Regions from separate parts of the Homo sapiens genome. Here regions 1, 2, 4 and 5 are each linked to region 3. Evidence: promoter capture Hi-C in 16 types of primary human blood cells and fetal thymus (Javierre and others, 2016). All regions are on one chromosome and are shown on one strand. The core of a region is centred on a gene start or on the middle of the fragment in contact, and the rest is flanking DNA. Distances in the headings are between cores, read along the strand shown.

Evidence for each region. Contacts are between HindIII fragments. The CHiCAGO score rates a contact against its expected background, and 5 or more counts as called.
Region 1: a fragment that was not itself captured here is called in contact with the fragment with the promoter of POMP in region 3 in 4 of 17 cell types (naive CD8 T cells, total CD8 T cells, activated CD4 T cells and 1 more); the score reaches 7.0 in naive CD8 T cells.
Region 2: a fragment that was not itself captured here is called in contact with the fragment with the promoter of POMP in region 3 in 1 of 17 cell types (fetal thymus); the score reaches 5.3 in fetal thymus.
Region 4: a fragment that was not itself captured here is called in contact with the fragment with the promoter of POMP in region 3 in 1 of 17 cell types (megakaryocytes); the score reaches 5.4 in megakaryocytes.
Region 5: a contact is called between a fragment that was not itself captured here and the fragment with the promoter of POMP in region 3, in 3 of 17 cell types (endothelial precursors, megakaryocytes and fetal thymus). The highest score is 6.3, in endothelial precursors.

What each region holds. Positions count from the first base shown.
Region 1 is chr13:28,124,674-28,130,147 of GRCh38, forward strand. No RefSeq gene overlaps it. Among named protein-coding and RNA genes, the nearest start is that of PAN3, 11 kb to the right of the region's middle. The HindIII fragment of the contact is 5,013 bases long and covers 1,179-5,474 here.
Region 2 is chr13:28,094,541-28,099,905 of GRCh38, forward strand. The region is part of intron 1 of FLT3 (fms related receptor tyrosine kinase 3); the gene reads right to left. Among named protein-coding and RNA genes, the nearest start is that of FLT3, 3.4 kb to the right of the region's middle. The HindIII fragment of the contact is 281 bases long and covers 3,169-3,449 here.
Region 3 is chr13:28,655,592-28,660,519 of GRCh38, forward strand. POMP (proteasome maturation protein) reads left to right here and starts at 3,539. Exons shown (of 6, transcript NM_015932.6): 1 at 3,539-3,596. The coding sequence starts at 3,594. RefSeq lists an enhancer at 3,032-3,191 and a silencer at 3,412-3,471. The HindIII fragment of the contact is 5,788 bases long and covers 728-4,928 here.
Region 4 is chr13:28,046,063-28,051,435 of GRCh38, forward strand. It overlaps FLT3 (fms related receptor tyrosine kinase 3), which reads right to left. Exons shown (of 24, transcript NM_004119.3): 6 at 4,033-4,160; 7 at 3,573-3,712; 8 at 3,322-3,475; 9 at 2,213-2,381. Among named protein-coding and RNA genes, the nearest start is that of FLT3, 52 kb to the right of the region's middle. RefSeq lists an enhancer at 4,012-4,779. The HindIII fragment of the contact is 4,034 bases long and covers 1-3,840 here.
Region 5 is chr13:28,067,494-28,072,541 of GRCh38, forward strand. FLT3 (fms related receptor tyrosine kinase 3) reads right to left here. Exons shown (of 24, transcript NM_004119.3): 2 at 2,998-3,119. It also overlaps the pseudogene KATNBL1P1. Among named protein-coding and RNA genes, the nearest start is that of FLT3, 31 kb to the right of the region's middle. The HindIII fragment of the contact is 1,982 bases long and covers 1,416-3,397 here.

The DNA.
Region 1 (5,474 bases), core at 2,435-4,934, 530 kb before region 3:
CACTGCTCTCCAGCCTGGGCGACAGAGCGAGACTCGGTCTCAAAAAAAAAAAAAAAAAAAGGTTAAGGCTGTCATTAAAAAAAAAAAAAAAAAAAAAAACAAGGTCGGCCGGGCACGGTGGCTCACGCTTGTAATCCCAGCACTCTGGGAGGCTTTGCGGATTGCCTGAGCTCAGGAGTTCGAGAACAGCCTGGGCAACACGGTGAAACCCCGTCTCCAATAAAATACAAAAAAAATGGCTGGGCGCGGTGGCTCACGCCTGTAATCCCAGCACTTTGGGAAGCCAAGGCTGGTGGATCACGAAGTCAGGAATTCAAGACCAGCCTAGCTAAGATGGTGAAACCCTGTCTCTACTAAAAATACAAAAATTAGCTGGGCGTGGTGGCACGCGCCTGTAATCCCAGCTATTCCGGAGGCCGCGGCAGAGAATTGCTTGAACCCGGGAGGCGGAGGTTGCAGTGAGCCGAGATCGCGCCACTGCACTCCAGCCTGGGTTACAGAGCAAGACTCTGTCTCAAAAAAAAAAAAAAAAAAAAAAAAAAAAAAAAAAAAAACCCAAAAAACAAAGTCATGTCCTTTGCAGCAACTTGGATGTAGCTGGAGGCCACTACTCTAGGCGAATTAATGCAGAGATGGAAAACCCAGTACCTCACGTTCTCACTTAAAAGTGGAGGCTAGGCCAGGCGCGGTGGCTCACGCCTGTAATTCCAGCACTTTGGGAGCCCGAGGTGGGCGGATCACCTGAGGTCGGGAGTTCGAGACCAGCCTGACCAACATGGAGAAACCCCGTCTCTACTAAAAATACAAAATTAGCCGGGCGTGGTGGCGCATGCCTGTAATCCCAGCTACTCGGGAGGCTGAGGCAGGAGAATTGCTGGAACCTGGGAGGCAGAGGTTGCAGTGGGCTGAGATGGCGCCACTGCATTCCAGCCTGGGCAGCAGAACTAGACTCTCAAAAAAAAAAAAAAATACATAAAAGGCAGATTGGAGAAAGGCATACAAATTTATATAATGTATACATGGGGAGAATCACGGAGTGATTATCCATTCCCAAAGGAGTTCAGAAGCTTATACATCATCCTGGCAAAACGGGTTATGGGGGATGAGAAGAGGAATTGTGTTGAGGGGATTACTAGGTAGAATGAATGGATCAGGAAACAGCGATTAATCTGTACATAAGCTTGTGAAAGGGTCTGTTCAGGTGTACATTCTTGGCCTTACAGGGTGTGAAAGAAAAAAACAATTGTTCTCCTTGGCGGGTCTGGATCTCAGGCAGAAAAAGGAACTTCAGAAAATTTCTTTCTTATTTGGGAAAGTCTAGGGGAGGGTGGAGGGTGAGAATGTCAGAGAGACCTTGAGGTATTGGTTTCCGAGTCCCAGTGGTAGTATTCATTTTTGTTTTAATTTTCATTTCCTTGATTATTAATGATATTGAATACCTTTTCACATGCTTATGGGCTATTTGCGTATCTCTTTTTTTTTTTTTTTTTTTTTTTTTTTTGAGATAGGGTCTCGCTGTTGCCCAGGTTGGAGTACAGTGGCACAATCATGGGGCTCACTGCAGACTTGACTTCCGGGGCTCAAGTGATCCTCCCACCTCAGCCTTCAGGGTAGCTGAGACTACAGGTGCACGTCACCATATCCAGATAGTTTTTTCAATATTTTGTAGAGATAGGGTCTCACAATGTTGCCTGGTCTGGTCTCAAGGGATCCTCCTGCCTCAGCTTCCCAAAGTGCTGTATTGCAGGCATGAGCCACCATACCCAGCCCTTTCATATCATCTTTTGAGAAATGCCTTTTCAAATCTCTTACTAATTTTTATTGGGGTGCTTATTATTTTCTTATTGATTTGTAGGAGTTCTTTACATGTTGTCTGGTTATATGTGTTGTTCATAACCCACTCCCACTCTTCACTATTTTAGAAGTGGCTTTAAAGATTAAATTCTTGATTGCACAACTGCACTCCAGCCTGGGAGACAGAGTGAGACTGTCACACACACACACACACCACGCAAGAAAGAAAGAAAAGAAAAAAAAGGCCAGGCACGGTAGCTCACGCCTGTAATCCCAGCACTTTGGGAGGCTGAGGCCAGCAGATCACCTGAGGTTGGGAGTTCGAGACCAGCCTGGCCAACATGGCGAAACCCCGTTTCTACTAAAAATACAAAAATTAGCCGGGCATGGTAGAGGGCGCCTGTAATCCCAGCTACCCAGGAGGCTGAGGCAGAAGAATCGCTGGAACCTGGGAGGCAGAGGCTGCAGTGAGCTGAGATTATGCCACTGCACTCCAGCCTGGGTAACAGAGCAAGACTCTGTCTCAAAAAAAAAAAAAAAAAAAAAAAAAAAGATTAAATTCATAGCAAGATCTCCTCTCTGCTGAAAAAAAAAATAGTTGGGTGTGGTAGCGTGTGCCTGTAGTCTCAGCTACTCAGGAGGTTGAGGTGGGAGGATCATTTGAGCCTGGGAGATGAAGTCTGCAGTGAGTTATTATCTTGCCACTGTACTGCAGCCTGGGCAACTGGGGAAAATCCTGTCTCAAAATAAATAAGCAAATATGCACTTTTTTTTTTCCCCCTGAGACCAGGTCTCATTCTGTTGCCCAGGCTGGAATGCAGTGGCACAATCACGGCTCACTGCAACTTCAACCTCCTGGGCTCAATCAGCCCACCTCAGCCTCCTGAGTAGCTGGGACTACAGGTGCACACCACCATGCCTGGCTAATATTTGTATTTTTTGTAGACAGGGTTTTGTCATGTTGTCCCGGCTGGTCTCCAAATCCTGGGCTCAAGCAATCCTTCTGCCTTGGCCTCCTAAAGTGCTGGGATTACAGTCGTGAGCCACCATGCCTGGCCTGGAACTGTTAAAATCTTATTGGTGAATTTAACTTATCAATATAAAATGTCCCTCTTGGCCGGGCGCAGTGACTCACAGGCCTGGCACTTTGGGAGGCTGAGGTGGGCGGATCACGAGGTCAAGAGATCAATACCACCCTGGACAACATGGTAAAACCCCATCTCTACTAAAAATACAAAAATTAGCTGGGCGTGGTGGCACGCGCCTGTAGTCCTAGCTACGTGGGATGCTAAGGCACGAGAATCACTTGAACCCGGGAGGCAGAGATTGCAGTGAGCTGAGATACTGCACTCCAGCCTGGCGACAGAGCGAGACTCCGTCTCAAAAATAAAGAAAACAAAAGTCCTTCTTTATCTCTAGGAGTATTTCTTGCTGTTAGTGCTCATATTATACATTTTTACCAGCTTTTTCCTTTGTTTTCTTGATTCCTTATTTTTAAGGTAGCATACTGTGGTAGATTTTATTTTCCAAAGGTGGCCTCAACAGTATGTCCCCATCCCACATGCTCTTCTAGAAACTACATCTTCATCAAAAGATAGAGTTAAACTCCCTATTCCTTGAGTCTGGGTAGGTAGGTGCCTGCTTCCATGAATAGCCTATAGTGGAGTTGACCCTGTGTAACTTCTCAGGCTCAGTTAGAAAAGGCCATGCAGTTTCTGCATGATTCTCTTCAGACACTCTTGGAACCCAGCCACAGTGCTGTGAGGGAGCACAAGCAGTCCATATTGAAGACCAGGTGGAGCAGAATTGAGGCCTTGGCCCACAGCCCTGGGTGATCTAGCATATGACAACTAGCACCAACTTGTCAACCATATGCCTGAGATATCTTGAAAGTGGCTTCCCATTCAGGTGAGATGTGGCAAAATAAAAAAGAGAAAAAAAAAAAAGAAAGAAAGTGGATTCTCAGCTCCCAGACAAGCTGCCCTGGGTGACACTGCATGGGGCAGATATAAGCCATTGCTGCCAAATACTACCAAAATTGAAGACTTGTAAGCAGAAATAAATAATCTGTAAGCAGAAATAAATGATTGTTTTCAGCCACTATGTTTCGAGGTGGGTTGTTATTCAGCAGTGGATAGCCAGAAGTGGAATAGAACCTTACAGATGGATTGTCTGTATTATTTCTGGATTCTCTGGAATTAGTTCTCTAATCTAATTAGGTTTAAAGGTATTGATTACCTTGCTTCCACTAGTAAAGGGGGCACATGTTAATTGAGCCACTGAATTAGGAGTTGAAACTGCACTTAGCCATATTTAGCTTTCTGAAACAGTAAATAAAAGAAGGAAATTATTGTAGTAGCTGGGGTGACTAATCCTATCAAGAAGAAACTGGACAGTCTGGACAACATAGTGAGACCCTGTCTTTACAAAAAAAAAAAAAAATCAGCCAGGTGAGGTGGTATACACCTGTAGTCCCAGATGTTTGGGAGGCTGAGGCAGGAAGATCACTTGGGCCCAGGAGGTCAAGGCTGTAGTGAGCCATGATTTGTGCCACTTCACTCCAGCCTGGGTGACAGACTGAGACCCTGTCTCAAAAAAGAAGAAGCAATCAGATCACTATTACACAATTAGGTAAGCAGTATGTCTGGAATGTATGAGGTCCCCTGGGGCATCTCACAGTACTCCCTTGCCCAGTGATTAAAGTCAAACTATAACTATCCCCTACAGACAGGACTGCTAACAACCCAGACCCTTAAAAATGAAGATGTGGGTCACCTCACCAGATAGGAATCATGAAAGCCTGGGTGGCTGCTGAAGGCAAAGGAAACATGGCATAGATAGTGGAAGAAGGAAGTACAGTAAGTCCTAACTTAAGGTTGTCAACAGGTTCTTGGAAACTACACCTTTCAGTGAAATGATGTATGAAGAAAACAATTTTACCAGAGGCTGATATAAACAAGAGTTAAATCCCTTAATCAGACTCTATTTATGGTCATGAAAACATCAACAAAGTTCTAAATAAAGACCAAAGCACTTCTAATATTAAACATTGAAAAAAATGTGGGCTATACATACATTTAAGAAATATTAATAAAAATAAGTAAGATAATTATTTACCCAAATATTCTAGCTCAGGGCCATGGGTGGCTGAAGCCCATCCCAGTAGCTCAGAGCTCTAGGCGGGAATCGCCTAGACAGGTGGCCATTCTATGATAGGGCATGCTCACATGACACCTATATTCACTCAGACTGGGAAAATGTAGCTGCAACAATTCTCCTCCTGTACACCGCTTTGGGATGTGGGAGGAAACTGGAGTACCTGGAGAAAACCCACATAAACATGGGGAGAACATGAAAACTCCACATCGACAGTGGCACCAGCTGGAAAGAGAATTTTTCTCATTAATGTTATAACTAAACATTATTGAAGGACCTGTTGTAATAAACAGCTTTGACCATGTGAATAAGGGGCAGAAATGAGGGTTGGAATAGTTATTTCTTCTTTTGAATATGTTTTTGTATATTAAACATCTTTTTTCTCTCCCTCCCCACTCCTCTACCATCGAATATACTTTGTGCCAATGGTAATTAACCTTATAGGATTTACATTACAGGATCATTATAGTGTGATTCAGCTAGGAGTGACTTTATATCCTCCTGTCCTGCAAGGGTTGCTTAAG
Region 2 (5,365 bases), core at 2,059-4,558, 560 kb before region 3:
CCACGTTAGAGTACAGTGGCATGGTCGTAGCTCACTGCAGCCTCAAATTCCTGGGCTCAAGCTATCCTCTTATCTCAGCCTCCTGAGTAGCTGAGGCTACAGGCATGTGCCTCTACGCTCAGTTAATTTTTAAATTTTTTTGTAGAGACTGGGTCTCGCTGTATTGCCCAGGCTGGTCTTGAACTCCTGGGCTCCAGTGATCCTCCCACCTAGGCCTCCCAAAGTGCTGGGGATACAGGTGTGAACCACTGCACTCTGCCTACTTTTATATTATTTTAAAATTTCCTTCACATGTGTTGGTACTCATAGAACAGAATTGCGTGAGTCAAATTAGTGACCAGTAGTGACTTCTACAAAAGCTTTCATTACTTCAAAACCACTGATAATGCAGCCATAGAAAGTATCAACCAAGAATAACTAAATCACTTAGGTATAAAACTCGCAGATTCCCCAAAGACAGAAAAATCTTCGACCCTATAACTGTGACTACCTGAGAAGTGGATACAGCTTTTCTGGAAGTCATAGAAAAACATCTTAAGATCACAAAGTCTCCTGATAAAAACCAAAAAGCTTGCAGGTGAGCAGTCTGGGTATATAAGAAAAAACAAAAAACCAAAAAGCTCTACTCAGACAAACCACCTACTGTGAAGTTCACAAGAATTTGCTATTTCAGAGGGAATAAAGGATACAGCACAGTGTCAAGACCAAGCTAAGCCAATTTCCAGCCCTTCAGTTTCCCCTCTCTTTTTTTTTTGAGAAGGAGTCTCGCTCTGTCTCCAGGCTGGAATGCAGTGGCATGATCTCGGCTCACTGCAACCTCCACCTCCCAGGTTCAAGTGATTCTCCTGCCTCAGCCTCCTGAGTAGCTGGAACTACAGGCGTGCGCCACCACACCCAGCTAATTTTTGTATTTTTAGTAGAGACAGGGTTTTATCACGTTGGCCAGGATGGTCTTGATCTCTTGACCTCGTGATCTGCCCACCTTGGCCTCCCAAAGTGCTGGGATTACAGGCATGAGCCACCTTGCCCGGCCCCCTCTCCAAATTCTTACTCCTGTTATCTACAAGATCCCTTTCAAAGTTAAGAAAAATGATAAAATACAATACTCTTGAGATTATTTGCTTTTTGTCAAATCAAAATCTTTGCCCAAAGATTAAGGCAATGTCTGGTAGGTATGTGGGGAGGCAGCAAGACTGTAATCTTGAACTTGAATGATAGGGGTTAGTTACTGTCACCCTGCTTGCCGAGTGTCATGCAAGGATGAGATGAGAGGAACACAAAGAACCGTGGATATGTTGTTGAAGCCGAGGCATTTTGTGGGCTTCTCAAATGAGCAGGAATACCCTCCCAGAGTAAAATGTGGTCAATACCTTTGCTTAAAGAATGATTTGGAAAAGTGCTTCTTCCCAAGACCTAAAAGATGACCATATTTAGCTTTGGAACAGTTTGTTCCTTTTACTTTAAATGGAAGAGCATTTTCTTTCCCATAAGCATTAAATACAGTACTATATCTCCATTTTTAAGTAGTTTTAGGCTGGGCGCACTGGCTCACATGTGTAATCCCAGCACTTTGGGAGGCTGAGGCAGGAGGATTGCTTGAGCTCAGGAGTTCAAGACCAGCCTAGACAATACAGTGAAACCCCATCTCTACAAAAAATACAAAAATTAGTCGGGTGTCATGGTGCATGCCTGTAGTCCCACAACTCAGGAGGTTGAGGTAGGAGGCTTGCTTGAGTCCGTAAGGCAGAGGTTGCAGTGAGCCGAGACTGTACCACTGCACTCCAGCCTGGGTGATAGGGCCAGGTCTTGTCTCAAAAAAAATTTAAAAAGTAGTTTTAGGGGGCAAAAAACTGGGATCCCTTTTCTGACCAGGCTAAAGCTTCCTTCATTGACGCATGCAATTTTTTTTTTTTTGAGATGGAGTCGCACTCTGTCACCAAGGGTATAGTGCAATGGCGCAATCTTGGCTCACTGCAACCTCTGCCTCCCAGGCTCAAGTGATTCTCCTGCTTCAGCCTCCCAAGTAGCTGGGATTACAAGCGTCTGCCACCACGCCTGGCTAACTTTTGTATTTTTAGTAGAAACAGGGTTTCACCATGTTGGCCAGGCTGGTCTCAAACTCCTCAAGTGATCTGCCTGCCTCAGCCTCCCAAAGTGCTGGGATTACAGGCATGAGCCATCGCACCCAGCCAGACTCATGCAATTTTTAATGTATATTTAGTAATCATAATAACTGTGTTGGAAGGTTTAATAAAAGAAAGCATACTGAAATACTTTTCCTGGGGAAAGGCAATGACCACACATTTCTTAAAAAAATAAAATTGGTTATTTATACACAAGTTCCCCTACCTCCATCTCTTTAATCTTTGTACTGCTTGTGCCTAGCAAGAAATAGGTATTCTGTCAGGCACGGTAGCTCACACCTGTAATCCTAGCACTTTGGGAGGATCACTTGAGCCCAGGAGTTCAAGATTAGCCTGAGCAATACAGTGAGATCTCATCTCTACCAAAAAATTTTTCAAAAAATTAATGAGGTGTGGTGGCACGTGCCTGTGGTCCCAGGTACTCAGGAGGCTGAGGTAGGAGGCTTGCTTGAGCCCAGGAGGTTGAAGCTGCAGTGAGCTGTGATCACACCACTGCACTCCAGCCTCAATGACAAAGGGAGACTGTCGAAAGAAAGAAAGAAAAAGAAAGAAAGAAAGGAAGGAAGGAAAGAAGGAAGGAAGGAAAAAAATGGGTATTCAATTAAAGTTTGTTAAATAAAAACAGATTTTTTCTTCCTAATGCATGTTTTCTCTTCATTTTTCTTATCTGAAGTCTTCCCTTGGAATATAAGTAAGTCTTCCTCCTTCCCATTTAATATCTCATTGCCTGATTGTTTTTCAGTTTAAACAACAGGAGAATCCAATAACAAATATTTACCAATAGCTAAGAGTTACTGAAAGTGCCTTCTTAGTTATAAAAAGTTAATCCATTTTTAATGTAAGGCAAGAAGTTCACAATTAAACCTAAGAGGATAATTTACTATAGATAGACGTGAAGTACCTAAAAAGAAATGAATATCCAATCTACACCTATATAATGGCAAAAATTAGAACTAGAGTTTCAGAGTCAGAGGGGACATTAATGTCAGGTCGGCAGGTCTGGGCTCACATCCAATCCAAACCAAGCTTTGCTGAGTGTCCCTTCCCTCCACTTTCTCCTGAATCATTCCCCCTTGGGCTAGGAGTTTCCAAGAAGGCAAATAAACTAAGATAAGCAACAAGAGCAAAGAATGGCAACTCAAATGTGCAGTTCAAGGCTTTGAATACGAATTTTTTTTAACACTAATGAAAAAGGTAGTATCATAGCTCTTAAAATATTGAAATACTTCTCTCTGTCCAGTATCAGCAGATAATGCAGAAAAGCCCATTGGGAACATGTTCCTCTCCTTCAAATGCCACTTAGAAAGCTTCATCATTATTCATAAATGATGAATAGAAGTCTGGGCATGGCCGGGTGTGGTGGCTCATACCTGTAATCCCAGCGCTTTGGGAGGCTGAGGTGGGTGGATCGCCTAAGGTCAGGAGTTCGAGACCAGCCTGGCCAACATGGTGAAACCTCGTCTCTACTAAAAATACAAAAATTAGCTGGGTGCGGTGGCACGCACCTGTAATCCCAGCTACTCAGGAGGCTGAGGCAGGAGAATCGCTTGAACCTGGGAGGCGGAGGTTGCAGTGAGCTGAGATCGCGCCACTACACTCCAGCCTGGGTGACAGAGCAAGACTCCGTCTCAAAAAAAAAAAAAAAAAAAAAAGTAGTGTTTACAATATAAGGGAAATTGGGATCCCATGTTCTAATTCAAAGAATTTAAGGCTATTAACCATTTTAAAGTTCTCATGTTTAAGCTTCTCACTTTATCCTTCTTTATTCAAGAAAATCCATAATACAAAGTATTGGCAAAGATGTGAGGAACTGGAACTGCCATACACTGCTAGTGGGAGTGGAAATTGGTGTAACCACTGTGGAAAACCGTTTGACGGTATCTACCAAACCTGAACATATCCCTTCCCTATGATCCAGGAATTCTACTTGTGGGCATAATCCTTTATACTGGTGTTTATGTCCACCATATATAAAACAATGTTCACAGCAGTGCTATGCATAATTACACAAAATTGGAACAACTTCCATGTGCTTCGTGAACATAATGGATAAAATAAATTATAAGATCTATTCATACCACGGAATGGTACCAGCAATTAAAAAAAAAAACACTGCTACAGAGAACAAGGTTGAATCTTATTATTATAATGTTGAGTAAAAGAAGGTGGACATAAAAGAGCACACGATGATGGTTTGGTTTACATGAAGTTCAAACATAGGCAAAAGCAATCCATGGCATCAGAAGTCAGAATAGTGGCTACCTGGGGAGGGGGTACTGACAGAGAGGGTGGAGCTAGAATTGCTCTATATCTCAGTCTGATCGTGGTTATTTGGGCACGTACATATGTGAAAACTAATGAAATTGTACTCTTAAGATGTGTGCATATTTACTGTGTGCCAATTATACTTCATTTAGAAATATCTGGAGAGAGAGACATAGAAATTTCTGAATTCTTTCCTAAATAGAAAAGAATTCCATGCAGCTTAAATATCGTTGCAAGTATTGATGCTTATACCTTTAGAAAGCCCATTATGCTTCTGAAAAATGCACTTACTACTTAATATCATACATAATAGAAAGCTAACATTTTGTATTAACGGAATCTGGAAAACATATTGTACTACACATTTGAAATTACAGATTTACTAACTAGTAAAGATAACTATTTAAGAACTAAAATGTCTTTGTTTTTCAACTCTTTTCCCCCGATTTCCATTTTTTACTTTTTATATTTCAGAATTATTTGTAACAAAAGCTATTGGATATAATTCCTGCACTTCTATATTGCAAGCATTTTCTCTATTTACCACAGAGACTTCAAGTCCTAGCATTTCAGAGCTGAAGGGGACTCGGACGGACTCCCTCACTGCACAGATGAGGACGCGGAGGCCGGGGGAGGTGAGTGTCAGTCCCAAGGTTGCAGACCTAGGACAGGGACCGGAGCTGCCGGGCACCCAGAACTCTGTCGCCTTCAACCCAAATTCGATTCAGTCCTCTCATCTTTCCAAATAGAAAGCTGACGCGAACCGATGGGAAGATTTTTTTTTTCAATAACAACTATGCTACCCAGCAGATTCTTTGGGGACAGTCCTCGGAGTCCTTGAAAACCCCTTTGGGGTTTATGCCAGGATAAGAAGAGACTAGAAGAAAGGGACAGCTAGTATTTTAATATGTAAATCTGTTTGCATAATATTTCCTAGGTAAACTATTCGTTGATCC
Region 3 (4,928 bases), core at 2,289-4,788:
CTTCCCATAATCATTATCTGACATCACTGGTCATTCCCTTATCTCAACATCGTATCTTCCTTAGCTCTGAGACATTTTCAGACCTCTCTTCTCTATGCCTCTTCCAGCTTCTTAAGTTCTAAAGAGACACTCACTACATACTAGATTTCAAAATCCTGCTGAGTACCTGCCTAAAGTATGCAAGGCACTGTGCTGTGGAGACAAAGCAGCTTTTAAGAGGGGGCTAACCAAGCAGGCTGGGTAATAGGGTTTGGGTGCCCAGGGCCAAGCTTAGGCAAATAACAGAAAAGAGCAAAGTTAAGTGTAATTTTAGATCGTTAGGGAGCACTAAAATTTAGGTCAGAAGACCCAAATTCAGCTGACAAGATGAAGTACAAGAATAGTACCCAAACAGGAGACAGATGAGGTAACAAATGGGGAAAGAGCTAGGAGGAGGGAGGAGGGTTCTTGCCAGATGTGAATGAAGCTGAATTTGTCCTCAGTTTACCTAGCTATGTCACCAGACTGACTTAAGAGTAAAGTCAAAGACGACTACAAAAAGTAAAACAAAATAGGGTGCTTGTTCTCATACAATGCCTCAGCATTTTCTGTGAAATGTGCATAATGATAGTATCTACCTCACAGGATTAATTGAAACAATATATGCAAAAAACTAAACCCTGGCCTGACATGTAACAAATGTTAGCTATCATTACTAATGTTCTATCCTCTAAGCTATTTAACATAAAGCTTAAGTAAACATAATTAAATCATTCCAGCATCAAATCTAATTTACTTCTTATTTAGCATACTCAAAAGTACCCCGTATTAGTTAATACTGTAACAAACCATTTAAAATAGGACATAAACTTGAGTGTAAGACTCAAAATAAAGGGAATTTTCTCCTTGCTGAGCCACTAAAACAACTCTTCACACTGGTCACCAAAAGCCTATTTTCAGGGCTTTATGATCCCTTTTTAGCTACTTTTGAACTACTTTCTAACCTCTCAATACTTCCTTGCCCTTTTGATTCGAAGATGGCATAGCCTTTAAAGCAGGCTCCCCTTCTTCTGGCTGTCTTTTGAATTCTGGTATTTCTTAGGTTCACTCCTACTTTTTCCTTCCTTTCAAAGCCTTTCCAGTATGTGACACTACCTTAGCGTACCATTAGTGGCTTAAATGGTATCCTGGTTCCTACTTTCTCCCAATCTTAGTCTGTCCTTCATGCTGCCACCAGAATTTTTTTTTTTTAATGCCAAATGTTTGTGAAAAGACCTCCATTATCTCCTGTTGTCTATAAGAAAAAGCCCTAAACCTCAGCATACCATAGAAGGCCCTTCGTTTTGGCCCCAACCTGTCCCTCCAACCTCATCTCATTTTGCTTCACCTGCTCACCCAGAGCTCCAGCCACAGGGAAATGTTTTCCATTACTCAGATAACAACACGACTTTTCACAGATCTCTTGCCTTTACATGTTCCTCTTCCGTGAATGCTGTTTTCTCCTGCTCCCAACAACTTTCTGGTTTAGCCCCTTTCTCTATCAAGCATTTATCACACTGCATTTTATTATTTTATTATTATTATTTGAGATGGAGTCTTGCTGTGTCACCTAGGCTGGAGTGCAGTGGCGTGATCTCTGCTCACTGCAACCTCTACCTCTCAGGTTCAAGCGACTCTCGTGCCTCAGTCTCCTGAATAGCTGGGACTACAAGCATGCACCATGATGTCTGGCTAATTTTTTTTTTTGTATCTTTAGTAGAGATGGGCTTTTGCCATGTTGGCCAGGCTGGTGTCGAACTACTGACCTCAAGTGATCTGCCTGCTTCCAGCTCCCAAAGTGCTAGGATTACAGGTGTGAGCCACTGCACCCAGCCCATGCTGCATTTTAAATATCTGTTTGCATGTCTATTTCCCCAGGAAAATATATAAGCATCTCAGGTACAGGGAATTGCTCTTTTCTTCTTTATAGCTCCAGAATCTAGTACCAAGCAAATGTTCAATACATATTCATTGAACTGTGAGCAATCAGCAAATGTTAAAATGATTTTTAAGAAAAGATTCGCAGTTTTACAATTTCTCAGGTGGAATTGACGGAAAGAAAAAAAGATGCAAACGAAACACTCCAACTCAAATCTCAGGATTAAACATGGCTATTGTGAAGGACCAGAAGACACCTAAAGGACAGCATGGCAGAACACATAACATCTGGAACTTCAAAGTTGTATGACCATGGCAGTGGATATACATAACATATATGGCCTTATCATTTTCCTCTCTCAAATCCTTCGATGGCTTTTTAAAGACAAAGCCTCATCCTTAATCTTGCCTACAAAGGCTGCATAAAAAACCTGTAGCTAGGTCCCATGATGCACGCCTGTAGTTCCCATTACTCAGCCGGCTGCAGCAGGAGAATCGCTTGAGCCCAGGAGTTCAACGCAGACCTGGGCAACATAGCTAAACCCTATCATTATTTAGAACAAACAAACAAAAACAACAACAAAAACCACTTGCCTCCATCTACTTACAACCTCATCTCACAGTACTCTCCACTTTACTTTCTGAACTTTAGCCAGACTTAGGCCTTCTTTCCAGTTCCGTTTTTGCACAAGCAGATCTGCACGTAATGTTGTTTTAAATATCCTACTACCCCAAACTAGTTCGCTCTTATCTTTTAGCTGTCAGTCCAAAGATTCCCTAAGATGTCTCCATCCTGTGGCAGCAGACTATAAGGCCGTTTTATTACATTATATTTGAACAATACAGAATAGTGTAATGAGCATGGATTCTAGACTCATAAATATGTCCTTAGGCATATTTATTTAAGCCCTTCATGTCTCGGTTTCTTCACCTGTAAATTGTACTTGTAAGGTTATTGAAAAGATTAAAAGAGATAAAGGATGTAAGCACTTAGAACTGTGTTGATAACGCAATTCAAAGGGCCCAACATATGTCGGTCATGATCACATTTACTTAATTTGTAGTCACTATCGTCCCCTCTCTCCCCTCTAGCCTCCGGAGTACCCCTGCTCCTCTAGCCCAGAGGCCACACCGGCCTGGTCCTTTTTTGTATTCCTAGCCTCAGCACAGGGTTCGGAACATACCAGGCCTTCAATATTATGTTTTTTAAAAATGACAAAAGCCTTGTGTCCCAATTTTGCTTTATTAGCCGAACGATCTCAAGCAAATCACTCAAACCACCTACGCCTCGTTTACCCTTCTGTGAAATGTAATAGCTACCTCAGAGAGGTTTTGTGTTAAATAAGGCGATGTACCTACAAAAGCACACTGCACATCTTAAAATGCCGTACAAACCGTAGATGTTTATTAATAAACCGGAGTCCGTGTCTTCCCTCCCCTCAGGCACGTCTCGTCCCGACCCCTCCCTCCTCCCAGCCCACACCCTTACTGCGCCCTTGGCCCTGGGTCCCTTGGGATTGCAAGCGTGGGAGCCTCGGCCCCGCGCAGCTCCCTCCGGCGTCCCGCGCCCTCCTTCCTTCCTCGCCAGGACGGACGCACTTCCGGCGGATGTGGGGGCCAGCCCTCGGAAACGGAAGTGAGCGGCGGGGTCGACTGACGGTAACGGGGCAGAGAGGCTGTTCGCAGAGCTGCGGAAGATGGTGAGTGGGTACCCGGGCGGCTGGAGTTCCACGCGGGCTCGGGACCGTGGCTCGGCAGAAACAGGCAGTCGCCTCCCAACCCGTCCCCGGTGGCGGCGGCGGCGGCAGCGTGGGGCTGAGGCCGGCCTCAGGCGCCATAATCTGTCGAGTCACGGGGTTTGGGTGGGTCGTGACTGTCGCCGGGGCCCGGCACTAGTCCCACTAGCAGTGCTTCGGCTTCATCCTGCTCCTCTTAGCTCGGTTTGCGCCCTTCCATCCCTTAGACCCCAGCAGGCCCAGACCTCCTCCCCTTACTTGGCGCAGAAGTGGAAAAGGCAGCCGTGAAAGTGCAACGTTCTGTGGGGTGGCGCTGGCGACCCTTTCCTTGACGGGTAACCTCTGGGAGCCCAGAGCTCTCAGACTCCTCATCTCCCCCAGCCCCCGCCCTTGTAACTGCCTAGTAAACAGCCCACAACTATAGGTCGCATTTGTGTAACGCAGCTTTGCTCTACAAACTTTTTTGAGAGCTTGTAGTGTGCTAGATGTTAGAGGGGAAAAAATCAGACAGTTGCTATTCCCTGTTTGCCAGTATTGTTAGTATATCTCCTCCCTCCTTCTCCTCCCCACCACTTTCTCTTTCTTTTTAACTTAGAAGTTGTGGTATTTGAGAAGAACACTGAGTCACCATTGCCACAGACTCTGATATCGGTACTGCTGGTAGGCCATCCATCCAAATCTAGAAAGTTTCTATTGGTAAATACTGCTAATCGTTATCTAAAAAGTTTTTTAGGCACTCTCAAATGTAACTAGTAGTTAGGTTTTCGTAGATTTGCCTTTCTCGGCTCCTTCCTTTATTAGAAACAGCAAGTACTAATCTTGATATTTTACAGAAGGAAATTGGGAAAAATGACAATAACAGAATCCAGAAGTCAGAATTCACCTTTTCTTTGTGCGTTGAAACCTTGTTACTTTACAATAAAGCAGTCCAGAAGGAGGAGAATGTTCATATAGGGAAGTAATAGAAGATACATTTGGAAAGCAACAATCACACATCTCTGCTGAAGGTCCCCAACTTCTGGTGGTTCAACAATCTTCTGACTTTATGATGGTGTGAAATCCATACACAGTCAGTAGAGGCCATATTTGAGTACCAATACAGCCATTCTGTTTTTCACTTTCAGTACAGTATTCAATAAATTACATGAGATACCCAGTACTTTTTAATAAAGTAGGCTTTGTATTAGATGATTTTGGCCGACTGTAGGCTAGTGTAAGTGTTCTGAGCACATTTAAGGTAGGCTAGGCTAAGGCCTGATGTTTAGTAGGTTAGGTGTGTTAAATGTGTTTTTGACT
Region 4 (5,373 bases), core at 574-3,073, 610 kb before region 3:
AAAAGTATCCTACAGTGCACAGGACAGTCCTTCACAACAAAGAATTATCCAGCTCAACATGCCAGCAGCGCCACTGTTGACAAACCCTGAGTTTGGGGGAGTGTGTTTCAGTCAGCTCCCAGACCAGTCTGCATTCTTAATTACTTTAAAAATGAATGCTCTGAACATTGGGGGGTTTCAGTAAGAGACAGTAGACAACTCCATGCAAACCCTGCACTGAGATTCTAAAAGTCCCAACAAGGGACTTTTAGTACAAATCCCTTTTAGGTATAAAGAGTAACAATAATCATGAAACAAACACTTAGCGGAATCAAGGTGAAAAGAACTCCTACTCTTCATCTAGAACAGGGCTAGCCAATGAAACAGAATGTGAGTCACAACTTCAAGCCTTGTACATCATTTACAAATTCTGTTGGCTGTATAAAGTAAAAGGAAGCAGGTGAAATTAAGTTTAATAACATATTTCGCTGAATGCGATATATCCAAAATACTATCATTTTAATATATAATCAATGTAAAAATTGTTTTAATTTTATTATTATTTTTTCTTTTTGAGGCAGGTTCTTGCTCTGCATCCAGGCTGGAGTGCGGTGACGTGATCATGGCTACTGCAGCCTCGACCACCTGGGCTCAATCAATCCTCCAACCTCAGCCTCCCAAGTAGCTGGGACTAAAGGTGTACACCACCACACTCAACTCATTTTTGTATTTTCTGTAGAGATGGGATTTTGCCATGTTATCCAGGCTGGTCTCAAACTCCTAGGATCAAGCGATCCACCCGCCTTGGCTTCATAAAGTGCTGGGATGACAGGTGTGACCCACCGAGCCCGGCCAATATAAAAATTATTAATAATATATTTTACATTCTTTTTTTCATACTAAGTCTTCAAAATCTAGTGTGTATTTTACAATTAGAGTACATCTCAATTTGGACCAGACACACTTCAAGCTCTCAATAGCCACATGTGGCTGGTGGCTACCGTACCGGACAGCACAGATCTAGACCTGTGATAGGAATCACCAAAGGTTCTCATTAAAAAAGCAGAGTCTGAGCGTTTTGCCCCAGTTTTGAGTCAGCATGTCTGGAATGGGAGCCAGGAATCCACATTTTAAACATTTGCTCAGATGATTCTTACACAGTTGTTCAACAGACCACATGCTGAGAAAGGATGATTTATTCTAGTCCATTGACTTGTTTGAAAGATAACATGTGCGTCTCAGTGTCTCATAGCCTAGTCCAAAACCATGTTCCATAGCATTAGTTTAAAGAGACAAGAGATGTCATAACTATAGAAGATATAGGGGAAAGTTGTTTTTTGTTTTCCAAAGAAGGAATGGAGAATTCCTCCCACAAGAGAATCTTTCGGCTGGGTGCAGTGGCTCACGCCTGTAATCCCAGCACTTTGGGAGGCCCAGGTAGGGTGAATCTCCTGAGCTCAAGAGTCCGAGACCAGCCTGCGCAACATGGCAAAACCCTGTCTCTACCAAAAATACAAAAAATTAGTCAGGTGTGGTGGTGTGCACCTGTGGTACCAGCTACTTGGGAGGCTGAGGTGGGAGGATCACTTGAGCCTGGGAGGTGGAGGTTGCAGTGAGCCAATATTGCACCACTGCACTATAGCCTAGGTGACAGAGTGAGACCTCATCTCAAAAAAAAAAAAAAAAAGAAAAAGAAAAAGAAAAGAAAATTTGTTGTTCTTAAAAAAAAGAATCTTGCATAGTTTCTCATACAAATCCCGAGGAAAACAACATTTTCCTTCAGCACTTACTATTGGGCTATTTCTGCATGTATTTTTTGAAAATTTAAATCAATACACCTATGAGTAATGTTTTTCTGTTTTTAAGGAGTTTTACTTCCTCAATCATCTGCAAATGTTTTAGGGGAGACTCAGTGTCCTACACACCGCACTCTCAAACAGGAAGTAAAAACTACCTTGTGACTCAGAAAATGCCAGAGAACCAGACTCAAACTAGACCAGACTAATACGGTTCTTTCTGTTTTCATGCAGCAGGTTATATTATCTAAAGTAATGGTAAGACTGCTACTGTATCCTCACATCTGCTTATTGTTTTCTTATCTCCAATTTCAACTCAATAATAGTTAAACTCATAAGTGAATTTGCTTCCATAAGTATAAAACTGTCCTTCTCAAGGGCGACAAGCAAGGAGAATTATGCTAAAAATGGTATCTTAGAGTCCTTTGTGGTCTCACCTGTATCCGTTATCAAGACCCTTTTGCTCACAAGGAAATGATTTTCGAGAGAAGGTCCACGTACATCTGATTTGTGGGTAGGCTTTAAACCTGACAGAAAAACAAAACTCTTCATATTGGTCAATTTCATAATCTTCACTTGAATTGGTAGCATTTATAAATCCCTTTTCTGTAAGAAAAAATAGGCATTTATGAGTTAGTTAATAATATTCATAGGGAAACGTATTGAGAAGATAAAATAAACTTGTATTCATCAGTTTAACACAGGAAAACTCAAGTGTTGGCATGCTGCAGGTCAGGTTGGATAATCCAAGTGAAAACCCAGGAGTCCTATCCCTAGTTCTAAGCCTGAGCTCATCATCTTTCGAAGTTAAGAAATGTTTAAAAAAAGAAAGAAGGAAAGAAAAAGAATGGGATGTAGATAATTGACTGTCTGGCCCCTGCTCTCAGCCAGCACCACTCTTCCATTGATGAGAGAGAGTAAAATAAACTCAAGGCACAAATAAAAGAGCGATCTGGCTAGCAATATTCACGAGGTTGCCTTATGGAACACTTCCTTATTAATCTGCTAAGAGCATCGCTGTATTTCTCGGCATTTTCATTATGGCTGAACGCTGTGCCCTAATCTGAGATTATTGAACTGTGGTTATTTTCAGATCCTACATACCCCACCAAAATTTCAGTGCATCTAAGGGCTTGTACTGTCTCTCAGTGCTCACTGCCCTAACAGTGCGGTTAGTTGGTTCTTAGAACTAGTATTTATTGTCCATTTTGTGTCAGGCTCTGTGTCAGGTTCTGGAACTACAAGGATAGAATGAGTTGTTCTTGTCCTTAAGAAACTTACAGTCTACTGGAGGATAAAAGTACACAAACAGATGGTCATATTACAATGTGTTATATGCAAAGACAGTGGCATTCAAGCGAGCCTGGTTTAACGGGAAAAGGAAGAGGGTGGGCAGATTATCTTTGCAAAGCTATTCTAACTCAGTTTCTTTCTTAGTGTTTGATAGTAGCATTATATTGAAATCAGAATTTGTACCACATACTTCACATTCCACACTACAGCGACTAAAAATAGGAATAAAGATTGTGTGAGCAGCCTGCATTACCTACGATGGTAACCAAAGCTGATTGACTGGGATGCTTTGAAGAGGAACAAGTGTAGTATCCGGTGTCGTTTCTTGCCACTGATGATACAAAAGCAAACAGAATCCGTATCATAGTTCTGTTTGTTGAATAGGTACTCATCTCAAAGTAGTTGCCCTAGGTTTTAATAAAACAGAGTTTGCATTTAATGTTTTCAATCCAGACTATTAGTTAATTGTTCCTGCATTTTCAGAATACAAACTTGTCCTATTACCTCCTCGAGTGCTTTGTTTTCTAATTCCCAGGTGAGCCCGAATCCATGGTTCACATGAACAGCTTTGCACCTTATCCATAAGGGTTCCCCTACTTTAAGAAATAATTGTGGCAATGTGGTCTGAGGAGTTTGATTTAGATCTAGGAGATGAAAACATCCCAAGTGAGAAAAAAAAAGTGATTTTTGCCTCATCACAAAAGATATCCTGAACATTCTGAACAAAGACTTTAGCATCATCTCAAATATTACTAACCACATTAATAAAAGAAGCTTTTAGAGACTGACTCCTCTTTTATGAAGAAATCAGCATTTACAGAATCCATAATATTGCATTTACTGTGACCTGAAGGAATGATAGGATTTCTGAAGTTGAATGATCACCTACGCAGTTACTGTTAGTCCCTGATAGTTGCTAAGAACCGGTCACTGAAAATGAAAGTGCATGATATTATAGTGTTACCTATTGTGAACAGCCTGGTGCATTCCCTGCCCAGTTCATTTCTGGCACAGCACCTTATGTCCGTCCCAAATAATTCATGAAGCACTTTTTCCTCCTTTTTAACAACAGCTGGACTTTCTTCTTTACAGCTGCAATTAGAAAAGAAGTACCATTTGGCTAAACAAGTTTTAAAATTACAAATGAATGCTCAAGAGGAGAACAAAGTTCTAGAGCCAGTTTTAAGGGTCAAATGGTAAACAAAAGGTCAAAAGGTAAACAAGCCCATATCTATGGTTTCAGCTAAGAGCTCAGAGGGGAGCTAGCTAGTTACTCATTATCGCAATGAATTAGCATAACACTAAGGAGAATTACATAACAAAACAGTTTAAAATTGTTCATGTTTGGTGATCTCTTTGTTGCTGTTGTTTAAAGACAGGGAAAGAAAGGGAAAAAAATGAGAAAGAAGATAAAGGAAAAAAAGAGAAGAAAGAGAGAAGAGAAAAAGCATGATTGGGCTTTCATGAAGTTTAGCAAGGTAAGCATCCTTTTGGGACGCAGTAAGGGAGGGGGAAGCTAAAGTTTCAAAAGTCACCCGAGTTCCCATAGGAACAGAGGAGGGCCAAGGTGTCACCCACAAGGGAAGTCAGCCAAGACTCCCAAGTATTCAACAGAGCAAAACCCCTCTCCCTGCCTCAGCAGAAAGCGAACTTTTGTACCACTTTGGAACAAAGTATTTGGTACTTTTTCTCCTTCTATTTGGTCCTATTTTAAAAAAAAAAAAGTTGTTTAGTAAATTTTAATTAGTTCAAACTGCATGAATTTTTACTTTGTAAGAACTTAACTTTGGCATATATGAAAAACTATGTAAACATTTATACCTTACTTAGTATTGGCTAGGCACTGTTCTATGTGCTTTACATATATCAATTCATTTAATCAGAATAGCAATCCTATAAGTATCTGTTGTCATCCGCATTCTTCTGATGAGGCACAGAGAGTAAGTAACTTGTCCAAGGCCACACAGCTGCTAAGCAAACCAGGGTTCAAACCCAGGCTATCTGGCTCTGGATTCTATATCTTTAAACAATCATATTAGACTGCTTTCCCAGAACAAACAGGATAATCAGAAATTAAACATTTTGTCACAAGGAATTTCTTTCTTCCTTTCTTTTCTTTTTTTTTAGATGGAGTCTCACTCTGTCACCCAGGCTGGAGTGCAATGGCGCGATCTCGGGTCACTGCAATCTCCGCCTCCCGGGTTCAAGCAATTCTCCTTCCTCAGCCTCCTGAGTAGCTGGGATTACAGATGCCCACCACCACACCTGGCTAATTTTTGTATTTTTAGTAGAGACGGGGTTTGAC
Region 5 (5,048 bases), core at 1,157-3,656, 590 kb before region 3:
GATGTTCTTGAAGGCCAGGCCACGTTCTTCACCACCTGGCAGAGCTGAGTCCCACAGAGCCATGAAGGCACTGGAATTTAAGAGACTGTGATATCTCAAAATCACAATGTTAAAAAAAAATACAACTTTTGTAATAACACTGAAATTCAGTCTGTTGATCTTCTTATAACAAGTATAGCTAACTAATGAGGACATGAAATCACTAACACAGTTGTTGTCTGCTTACGTAAGTAAAACAGCTGCACAAGCTGTGAAAAGTCCAGAGAAAGCACGTAAAATGATCCATCACACAAAGTCCACCATTCTTTCCCAAATCCTTGTTACAGAAAACCAACCAACAAACAAACAAATCAACAACTCATTCTCTAGAAGTACAGGGTGGGACATGGCAAATAAAGAAAATAAGCTGGCTTGTGCAGGCCACCTGCCTGAAATATGAGGTCATGATTGTCAAACACATTTGGTCAACTCCAGTAACTTCAGTTCTTCACAAAGAGAAAACCAGTCATTAAACCATAGTGGAGACTTTTTGTTTTTATTATTTTTGTTTTTATTATGTTTTGTTTTGTTTTGTTTAGACTGTGCCGCAATGGCACAAGATCTGTTCAGGAGGAATGTGACATTAAATGCAGCTTTGACTTTCTGGAGGAAGGGAGGTATAAATGAACCTATTTGGTAAGGAGAGATAATTTTAGAGTTATGGTGGATTGCCTGCCTATGCTCTCTAATCACTGACAGGAAAAAAAAAACAGTACATCTCACTCAGCTGCTGTGAATACTTGGTGCCTTAGTATAGTCATCTCTTAAAAGCAAATTTGAAGAATATGGAATAGTTGGTGATATGGTTTGGATGTGTGTCCCCTCCAAAGCTCATGTTGAAACGCGATTCCCAGCCAGGTGCAGTGAGTGGCTCATGCCTGTAATCCCAGCACTTTGGGAGGCCAAGGTGGGCGGATAACCTGAGGTCAGGAGTTCGAGACCCATCTGGCTAACATGGCAAAACCCGTCTCTACAAAAAAAAAATCTATGATATATATCATATATATATATGAGATATATATCAGCCAGTAGCAGTGGCTCATGCCTGTAATCCCAACACTTTGGGAGGCCAAGGCAGGCTGGAGGGCAGTGGCACAATCTTGGCTCACTGCAACCTCCACCTCCCTGGTTCAGATGATCCTCCGGCCTCAGCCTCACAAGTAGCTGGGACCACAGGCGCACACCACCATGGCTGGTTAATTTTTTTGTTGTTGTTGTATTTTTGATAGACACGGGGTTTCACCATGTTCCTCAGGCTGGTCTCAAACTCCTCAGCTCAAGCGATCCACCCACCTTGGCCTCCCAAAGTGCTGGGATTACAGGTGTGAGCTACTGTACCTGGCTGATTTCTACTATTTTCAGTTCTCCATCACTTAAGCTTCCCTTGAGTAAATTTACTAAATATATGTTTTTAAAATAGAGGGGTAGGAATAGCACAAGAGAGGGGGTAATGAAAAACAAGACGAACAGCGTAAAAGAGAGGAGTCATGAAAAACAAAGTCGGAACTTGAAGGAGCCAGAGCCAGATTACTGAGCAATCTTGGTATCAGTCTAAGTAATGGGAAATCATGGAGGGTTCAGAGCCAGGCAATGAAGGATGTGCCTGCTTCAGGGAGGCTAGCCCAGCAGCTACCTCTGAGATGAATTGTAGCAGGAAGAGGCCACTTAGGATATCACTGTGATTATGAGGGAGTTAACGAGGGCTTGACTTAGGGAAGTGGCAGTGAGACTAGAGAATATGAGATGATTATATGAGAACTCCTAAAGGGGATCGACAACACTTGGTAACTGACCAAATGTGAAAGTAATAGAAAGAAAGTAGTCCAAAATGATGCTGAGCTTTCAAGCCTGGGAACTAAACAGGGGTATAAACAGAAATCAATAAATACAAGAATAAGAGCAGGCTTGGGGAAATAGAAATGAAATAAAATAAATGACATAGGTGGATTTTGATGTGCAAATGGAAAATCTACCTATATACTGGGGGCAGCTGGAAGTGAGGGATTCAGGCTTGGAAGAAAAGCCAGGATTCTCTTTAAGGAGAAAAGGAAATACAGTAGGCCCTCTGTAACCATGGGTTCCGCATCCATGGATACAACCAACCACAGATTGAAAATATTCCGAAAAAAATGGGGTTGCATCTGTACTGAACATGTACCGACTTTTTTCCCTTGTCATCATTATTCCCTAAACAATAGGGTATAATAACTATTCACATAGTTGTTTAGGTATTATAAAGCATTTGCATCGTATTAGGTATTATAAGTAATCTAGAGATAATTTTAAAAGTATACAGGAGGGTCAAGCATGGTGGCTGAGGACTGTAATCCCAGCACTTTGGGAGGCTTAGGTGGTAGGATCAGTTGAGCCCAGGAGTTCAAGATCAGCCTGGGCAACAGAGTGGGACCCCATCTTTGCAAAAAATAAAAAAAATTAGCCAGGTGTGGTGGCATGTGCCTTTAGTCCCAGCTAGTTGGGAGGTTGAAGTGGGAGGATTGCTTGAGCCCGGGAGGGCGAGGCTGCAGTGAGCTATGATCATGCCACTATACTCCAGCCTGGTCAACAGAATGAGACTGTCTCAAAAATATACAGAATCTGCATAGGTTACATGCAAATACCAAGCCATTTTATATCAGGTACTTGAGTATCCATGGATTTTGGTATTAGTGAGAGTCTTGGAACCATCCCCGCTGTATACCAAGGGACGACTCTACTCATTACTTCATGCTAGTTATCAATCAGTGTCCTTCCTAAATCCTCATATGAAGAATACGGTTCTTGAAGGAATGGAGTGCCAGGGAGCTAGGAGTATAGATGCTCTGTTGGTACCAGATGTGAGGCCATAATATACTTAAATACATAAAGAGAAGCCCATTTAGCCATGGTAGGCTTCAATAACTTACAAATTACGTTCTCTAGAGAAAAACAGCTAAAGGTATAATTTTAATGTTACTTTACCATGGGATATGATGATGACTTCCCCACTGATGAATCATTGTTCTTATGATTGATTAAAACACACTTGATCACAGGCAGATCTTGATTTGTAATAGTCCCAAATATCATTGCAGAAAAAACAACTGTAAAACAAAATAAAAATGATAATGTTGATACATGCACACCTTAAAAAGAAAACATGCATTTATCTTGCAACCAAACAACAAAACAAAGTGTAATCAGAGGAAATTGGCCACTATGAAAGTATGTAGGAAATTTGATTTTATGCAAGTTTAGTCTAGTTTAAATCAGGAGCAGAGATACTTAGAGCAGGGCTGTCCAATAAAACAGTCTGCAGTGATGGACATGTTCTATGCCTGTGCTGTCTAATATGGTAGCGACTAGCTACATGTGGCTCTTAAGCTTTTGAAATGAGGCTAGTTTGACTGAGGAAATGATTATTTGTATACATGATTTGTGTGTGTGTGTGTGTGCACTTTTTATTGTATATAGATTTCTACCTTTTTTTTTTTTTTTTTTTTTGAGATGGAGTCTCGCTCTGTCGCCCAGGCTGGAGTGCAGTGGCGCGTTCTTGGCTCACTGCAAGCTCCGCCTCCCAGGCTCAAGTGATTCTCCTGTCTCAGCCTCCCGAGTGGCTGGGATTACAGGTGCCCGTCACCGTGCCTGGCTAATTTTCTTTCTTTTTTTTTTTGTATTTTTAGTAGAGACGGGGTATCGCCACGTTAGCCAGGCTGGTCTTGGACTCCTGACCTCAGGTGATCCACCCGCCTCTGCCTCCCAAAGTGCTGGGATTACAGGTGTAAGCCACTGTGCCCGGCCTGGTATATTCTTTTTTTCTCTATGGGTGCTTATAGAATCTTTTCTTTGAAACCACAGCACTAAAATTTTCAAAATTATGTGCCTTCCTGAGAGTCTATTTTCATCCATTGTGCTGGGTACTCAGTGGGCCTTTTCAATCTAGAAATTCATATCCCTCTGTTTGGCATTTTCTTGAATTATTTCTTTGATTCCTTCTCTCCTCTTTACTTTCTGTTTGCCCATGATTTAGATATTTTCCCCAAATGACTGACAATCTTTGACAGTCTCTTCACATATAAGAATGAAGTGCTGAGCGTCTATCCTAAGCTCTATGATGTGGCTTGTGGCTCAATCTCTGTAGGTGTATATTTAGGTCTTTTCTCACCGGTTGGTCCGACTCCCCAGAGAAGATTCTCTCTCTTGCTTGCTGCCTGTGTCCTGCGAGCTGGTCTTGGCAAGTTATACTATTGTGGGGTCCTGCAATGAAAAGCAGGCTGCTTCTCAGCTTTCTCAACCCCCAACTATAATTCAGCTTTCATCATCTGCTTCTTCTTTTTAATTTTTTTTTTAAGAGACAGGATCTCGCTATGTTGCACACAGTGACTTCAAACTCCTGGACTCAAGTGATCCCCCTGCCTTGGCCTCCCAAGTTGTTGGATGATAGGTGTGAGCCACTACACCCAGCTTTATCTGCTTTAAAGCTCTCAAAGTTTTACTTTCTCCTTCTCCACCCTCTTTGTCTTTCTATGTTTATATCTTTGTTTCTTTGGGGGTATTAGGTATAATTGGCAAATAAAAATTGCAGTGTACATCATATATTCACAGTGTACATCATGTAATTTTCATATATATATAAAAATATATGTGTATTTATATATAATGTGTGTATGTATATGTATATATTAAGTATATATACATATATATGGGCTTCTCTTTATGTATTTAAGTATATATGTACATATAAGTATATACACATATACATACACACATTGTGAAACGAATACCCCAAACAAGCTAACTAACCTATCCATCAGCTTGTATACTTATCTTTTTCTTTTTCTTTTTTGGTGATGAGAACATTTAAGATCTACTCTCTCTCGCTCTCTCTCTCTCTTTTTTTTAAATTGAGACAGAGTCTTGATCTGTTGCCGAGGCTGGAGTGCAGTGGCACGATCACTGCTCACTGCAACCTCTGTCTCCGGGGTTTGAGTGATTCTCCTGCCTCAGCCTCCCAAGTAGCTGGGATCACGGGT